Linked DNA regions of Homo sapiens: region 2 is linked to region 1. The links are contacts of gene promoters, found by promoter capture Hi-C in human tissues and cell types (Jung and others, 2019). All regions are on one chromosome and are shown on one strand. Each heading gives the region's core, a stretch centred on a gene start or on the middle of the fragment in contact. The rest is flanking DNA. Distances are from core to core; before and after follow the strand shown. Region 1 holds the start of PDGFA (platelet derived growth factor subunit A). Region 2 holds the start of UNCX (UNC homeobox).

What was found. The method cuts DNA at HindIII sites, captures the fragments that hold promoters and counts their contacts. A contact is called where the count stands out against the background at its distance.
Region 2: the fragment with the promoter of UNCX here is called in contact with the fragment with the promoter of PDGFA in region 1 in 1 of the 25 tissues and cell types used here (stomach).

Annotation. Positions count from the first base shown.
Region 1 is chr7:518,458-521,517 of GRCh38, reverse strand. It overlaps PDGFA (platelet derived growth factor subunit A), which reads left to right and starts at 1,672. Exons shown (of 6, transcript NM_033023.5): 1 at 1,672-2,579. The coding sequence starts at 2,517. PDGFA-DT (PDGFA divergent transcript) reads right to left here and starts at 1,127. Exons shown (of 3, transcript NR_033963.1): 1 at 1-1,127. RefSeq lists enhancers at 1-114, 1,959-2,880 and silencers at 1,203-1,542, 1,643-1,732, 2,013-2,152, 2,613-2,702. The HindIII fragment of the contact is 45,371 bases long and covers 1-3,060 here.
Region 2 is chr7:1,231,103-1,234,274 of GRCh38, reverse strand. UNCX (UNC homeobox) reads right to left here and starts at 1,403. Exons shown (of 3, transcript NM_001080461.3): 1 at 984-1,403; 2 at 580-755. The coding sequence starts at 1,257. RefSeq lists an enhancer at 1-398. The HindIII fragment of the contact is 11,886 bases long and covers 1-3,172 here.

The DNA of each region.
Region 1 (3,060 bases), core at 423-2,922:
TGAGGCCGGGGTCCGGCCTGCGTCCTGGCCCTGCGAGTCCGGCTCTTTCCAGAAGCCATGCAGTGGGTGTCCCCTCCCAAGCCGCAAGTTCCCCCTGGAGGGACAAGGCCTGGCTTTAAGGGGCTCCTCCACGTTTCCAAGGCTCCCCTGGTTCTGTCCCGGTCCCGCTTGGTCCTGACCACCCAGAGGGCATGCTTGACCGCGGGGGTCGTGGTGTGGGGCTGCGGCCAACGGAAGGGAGAGACGTGGGGAGGGGGCCTGCAGGTGTGTGGAAGGGCGCGTGTAGACGCGACCCACTGGGAGCGGAGGGAGAGGCGTCGCTCCCCAAATATTTGGGGGAAGGGGAGAGCCCCCGAAGCGCTCTCCGGATTCGGCCTTTGAAATGCTAGAGCTGGCCTAGCTGGGGATGAAAGACCGCCCGCGGGGCTGCGCCTTAACGGCCTTTGTCTGGAGGGAGGGCGACCGCGACGGGGGCAGGGGTTTAATCGACAGGGTTGGGGGTGACGGCTGGGCCGGGCGGGATTCTCCGCTGCTCACCCAAGGAAGCGTCTCCTGGGCTCCAGGGGCCTAGGCCGTCTAGCCTCGGGGTCTGCACAGCACGCCACCCCGCTGGACCCGGTACCAGGACGCGTAGACCCCCTGGCAGGGCACTGACGAGCACCTGGACCTGTAGTCAGGGTCCAATCCCTCCTGGTCTAGGGAGGCGAAATCCATCCAGCCCAGGCGCACCCGCCCTTTCTCGGCGTGGGAGCCGTCTAGCCACGCTCAGACCTCGGCCTCCGCGCGCGTTCCTCCCCCGCATCGCGCTCTGAGCTGCGCCTCGGCCGGAGGTGGCGCTCTGTGCGCCCCACGGATCCCGACGCGGGAGGCTCAGAACCCGGGGGACCCTCACCGGTGGCTCCTTTCCCTTCCATCCCCTCGACTTCCCGGCTCAGGGCGCGGCCCTGCCTTCGGCGCGGGAGTGGGGGACTGGGGGGCGCGGGGTCCCAGGGTGGGGACGAGGCGGGCTGCAGGCCCTTTCCCCGACTGGAGCTCGCTCCCAAGTGGAAATGTGGGTGGAGGGTCCTCATTCAGATGCCCCAGGCCTCGGATCCTGGGCGGGGGCGCGTGGCAGCCGCCAGGTGAGTGCCCCAAACCCGCCCCCCTCCTTCCCCAAAGACTGACTCCCCCTCCTTTTATGGAGAGAGGAAGGCTGGGGCCCTGGATCCGAACCGTGGAGAGCGGCCGGAGCGCCGGGGCGGGGGCGGGGACCGGCTCTCTGGCCCTTTTTGGCGCAGCAGCTCTGGGCGCTGCCCGCTGCCGCCGCTGGGGCCCGAGAGAGGCGAGCCGGCGACGGCGGCGCTTCTGCGGCGGCCTCCTCCCTCCCCACCCGGTGCCGCAGGATTGCAGCTGGCACTGGAGGGTGGGCAAGCTCGAGGGAGGGGCGCGGAGCCCCGGCGCGGAGCCGGGCGCGGGGCTTTGATGGATTTAGCTGCTTGCGCGAGCGCGTGTGTGCTCCCTGCCGCGGCGGCGGCGCCCGGGCCCTGCCGGGTCCGCACGAACCCCGAGCGCTTCCGAGGTGCGGGTCCCAGGCCCGGAATCCGGGGGAGGCGGGGGGGGGGGGCGGGGGCGGGGGCGGGGGAGGGGCGCGGCGGCGGCGCTATAACCCTCTCCCCGCCGCCGGCCGGCTCCACACGCGCGCCCTGCGGAGCCCGCCCAACTCCGGCGAGCCGGGCCTGCGCCTACTCCTCCTCCTCCTCTCCCGGCGGCGGCTGCGGCGGAGGCGCCGACTCGGCCTTGCGCCCGCCCTCAGGCCCGCGCGGGCGGCGCAGCGAGGCCCCGGGCGGCGGGTGGTGGCTGCCAGGCGGCTCGGCCGCGGGCGCTGCCCGGCCCCGGCGAGCGGAGGGCGGAGCGCGGCGCCGGAGCCGAGGGCGCGCCGCGGAGGGGGTGCTGGGCCGCGCTGTGCCCGGCCGGGCGGCGGCTGCAAGAGGAGGCCGGAGGCGAGCGCGGGGCCGGCGGTGGGCGCGCAGGGCGGCTCGCAGCTCGCAGCCGGGGCCGGGCCAGGCGTCCAGGCAGGTGATCGGTGTGGCGGCGGCGGCGGCGGCGGCCCCAGACTCCCTCCGGAGTTCTTCTTGGGGCTGATGTCCGCAAATATGCAGAATTACCGGCCGGGTCGCTCCTGAAGCCAGCGCGGGGAGCGAGCGCGGCGGCGGCCAGCACCGGGAACGCACCGAGGAAGAAGCCCAGCCCCCGCCCTCCGCCCCTTCCGTCCCCACCCCCTACCCGGCGGCCCAGGAGGCTCCCCGCGCTGCGGGCGCGCACTCCCTGTTTCTCCTCCTCCTGGCTGGCGCTGCCTGCCTCTCCGCACTCACTGCTCGCGCCGGGCGCGCTCCGCCAGCTCCGTGCTCCCCGCGCCACCCTCCTCCGGGCCGCGCTCCCTAAGGGATGGTACTGAATTTCGCCGCCACAGGAGACCGGCTGGAGCGCCCGCCCCGCGGCCTCGCCTCTCCTCCGAGCAGCCAGCGCCTCGGGACGCGATGAGGACCTTGGCTTGCCTGCTGCTCCTCGGCTGCGGATACCTCGCCCATGTTCTGGCCGAGGTTGGTGCCGCCCCCGCGCCCCGTCCCTGCGCCGGCTCCTCCGGCGCACACCCCCCGCCGGCTGGGGCGCCACGGGCTCTGCAGAGAGCGTTTTGGTTCCTGCCAGGGTGGTCGATGTTTAGATTTTCCCAACTGGGTTCTATTTTCTGCCATGCCTAAGTGTGTGTGGGGAGTTTCCAGCGTGTTGCGTCGGTCGCTCTGCCTCGGGGGGACCGGGGAGCAGCGAGGTGGACGAGTGGGCAGAAACTTCGGGGGGCGCAGTGTCCTCTCCGGGGAAGGGGAGCTGGGGCGCAGCGGGCGCTGCAGCAGCGGGGTGCGGGGAGCGGGGAAGGGGGTGTGTGTGAGCCGGCGGAGCCTGGGGAGGAGAGAAGGGCGGCGGATAAATAGGTAGGGGCGGCTGCTGCGGAAGCCCCTGGCCGGGCAGGGTGGGCAGCGCCAAGCTGCAGCCCTCGGTTCCCAGTCCCCAAGCCCGGCGGGGCTC
Region 2 (3,172 bases), core at 154-2,653, 710 kb before region 1:
TTTCTCCCACTTTCTCAATGTGTTAACTGTTTAAGCTTCTGCCTCCCCTTCCTCAGCTGTTCCCTTCTGCAAAGCGATGAATAAATACATGTTTCCATCTGAATATTTTGCAGGCGCAAGGTAAACAGACTCGTTCGCTCCAGGCTGGGTGACAGAGCCTCGCGCGGAAGGTTGAGGCGGTGCGGGGGCGGGGGGGGGTCCCCTTCCCTCTCTCCTCCGGGTCGGAGCCAAGCCGGCCCCTCCTCCCCTCCTCGCCCCTGCCTGGAGACCTCACTTGGCCCGGCCTCCGCCAACCCACCACGCCGCTTCCCGGTTCGGACGCAGCCGCTGTTCTGGTGACTCGGGTGCTGCCGCCGGCCCTTCTCAAGCCGCCCAGGCTTTTGGGGGGCAGTTACCCACCCCGCTGTCCGTGAGGGGCCGAGCCCCAGAACCCCCACCCCTCCACTCTTCCCCAGCAGGCGAGCGCGAAGCGGGCCCGCGGCAAGGGGACGATATCTCGCCACCTGGAACAAAGGCGTCCCGGCGCGCCCAGAGCCTGGGGTCCGGATGGCAGATCCGGGAGCGACGCCGGGTCTTTACCTGAACTCGGGACTCGACCAGGTCTAGGCGCAGCGCCAGCGCCTCGCGCATGAACACGTCGGGATAGTGGCTCTCGTTGAACGCCTTCTCCAGCTCCTCCAGCTGCCAGCCGGTGAAGTTGGTGCGGGTGCGCCGCCGCTTGCAGCCCGGGCTCTCCTTGTCCGGGTCCCCCGAGTCTGCGGGCAGTCACAGGACGCAGCGCGGCTCAGCCACCGGCCCAGGCCCGACCCCCACCCCTCCCTCCCGCTACCCGCTGGCCGCCTGGATCCGGGGGGGGGGGCGCAGAGACGGCCGCCTAGGAGCCGGCTCTCCTTCGCCAGCCCCGGGCCCCCCAGCGCCTCGGCCGGACCAGGGCCCCCGCCCCCAGCCGCACTCCTCCCCGCCCTCCCGCCCGCCGCGCCTACCTGACAGCTTGAAGGGCTGGCCGTCCCCGCCGACCCCGCAGGCGGCTGGCAGCAGCGGCGTGGGGTTGACCACCGAGGCGGCGGCGGCGCACGAGCCCCCGAGCAGGCCGTCGATGGAGAAGGGCACCGAGGCGGCGGCGGCGGCCGACTGCAGCTGGTGCCCGGCCAGCTCGTACACGTGGTGGTGGCCCAGCGGGTAGGGGAAGCCCACCACGCCGCCCAGCGAGCCCCCGAACTGGGCATGCGGGTGTTCCAGGAGGCGGCCGTCCATCATCTCGCGCGGGGGGCCGGCGGGGCCGGTGGCGGGGCGCGGGGGCGCGGGCCGGGGCCGGGGCGGGCCAGCGGCGGGAGGCGCGGGCGGCGGCGGCGGAGACAGGGACCCGGAGCCCCACACATGCTTCGCCCGCACTCCGGCGCTTTACTTATCAACATCAAGCTCCCGATAATTAGCCGCGGCCCGGGGAATTTGGGACCAATAAGAAGCGCTAATCGGCTCTGACGTCAGAGGCGTGCTGGGTGCAGGGAAACGTTTTCCATATCGATTGCTAATTATACCTGACATGCACCTCAATAAACAGTATCAGGAACTGTCACAACAAGACGGGCTGGGGGCGGGGGGAGCCGGAGGGAGGGAGGGAGGGAGGGAGGGGCCGCCCAGGGCCGGGCAGGCGCGGGCTGGTGCCTGGGCCCGGGGCAGGGGCCCCCAGCTAGCCCCCCACTTCACTCGGGGCCGGCCCCGAGCCCGCGCCTCCCGCCAGCCGCCGCCTCCCCGCCCCTCCGCAAATCACTAATAGATTTCCCTTTAAAACATTCAGCGCCGTGTTGTGGGGATTTTTCACCAGAAATGCTGTACTCTCTGAACCTTTAAAGTGATGTTGCTCCAATTACAGAGAGACATTGAGCGGCAAATAGACTGATCCAATAATAGGAGATTCATCATCCGCTTTTCCGAAACTGTCACATTGAATTTAAAACTACAAGGCTTCTCATCTCCTCCTCTCCGGCTGCAGGCGGCGGGAGAGGAGGAAGGAGGAGGAGGAGGAGGAGGAGGGCGATCCCGAAAGAGAAGAACTACAGAATGTAGCACCCTGTCAATAAAGAGGCGTAACTAATGCCCTCTCTGATTGACTGGCAGTCGCCCTATCTACAAAGACAGAGGTGGGGGGGGCTGCGGAGGCTCCCCGACCCCCATCCCCATAAAGCCCGGGCGCAGAGGAGGAGAGAGGGATGGGGACAGGAGGGGAAAAGTAACTTTGGGGTGGGGCCGATCCGCCCCCACCCCCTTACACGCTCGAATAAAGATAAATACATCCGCTCTGACTCGGCCTCTGAAGGATGGGGCTGAAGCACCCAACCCATTTATTATAATTAAATTATGTTCTCAGAGAAGTGTCACTCCCTTCTCTGCTATAAAATATTGATAGACTCAAAGCTAAATCACTAAAGGATATATTCTTAAATAAGCAGCAAATCAGGATTGTGGGCAGCAAGGAAAGAAATGAGGGGATGTCGGTCCATCTCTCTCCTTTGTAAAAAAGTTTGTCAGTGGGGTGGTCGCATTTGGCTGCGGGACCCCAGTGCTGGACTAGTTGGGTTAGGGCCACCTCTCCAGCAGTGAGTGCCCCGAGCCTCGGCCAGCCCAGGGCGGGGAAGAGAGGAGGAGAGCTCCGGCCTGGGCTGGGCCAGTCTGCGGAGCCACCACCACCCCAGGGCAAAGTGACAGACCAGTTGGCTTTGGGTGTAAGTAAGTGACTTGGGCCAGGCCTCCAAGCCCTAGCCCGCGTGAGAGGGAAGGGCAGGCCGGGACCGTGCGCATCTCTGCGTCCCTCCGGGTCAGGTGCCCGTGCCTGGGCCGGGGAGGGTGGGGGGTGCCGGAAACGCTCAGGAGGGGAATGCTTGGGTTGGCGGGCGCAAGGCCACCCCGTCCTGCCACACGACTGCCTGTCCCTGCGACTGGACCCACAGTCTGGCCCTGTTCCTAACTGAAGGTCGTGGACGGGCCGATCCACGCTGACTCCGACTTCAATGACCCTCTTGTCTCTCCTTGCGGGAGAGGAGGGGACGGCGCAGGGTTGAGGACCAGGCCCAGCCAATCCAGGAGACCGAGAGGCGGCCTGGAATTTGGGGAGCCCCCTCCCTGTTTCCAGTCTCACTAGGAAAACGCTGCGAGTATTCATTCCGAGGTCAGA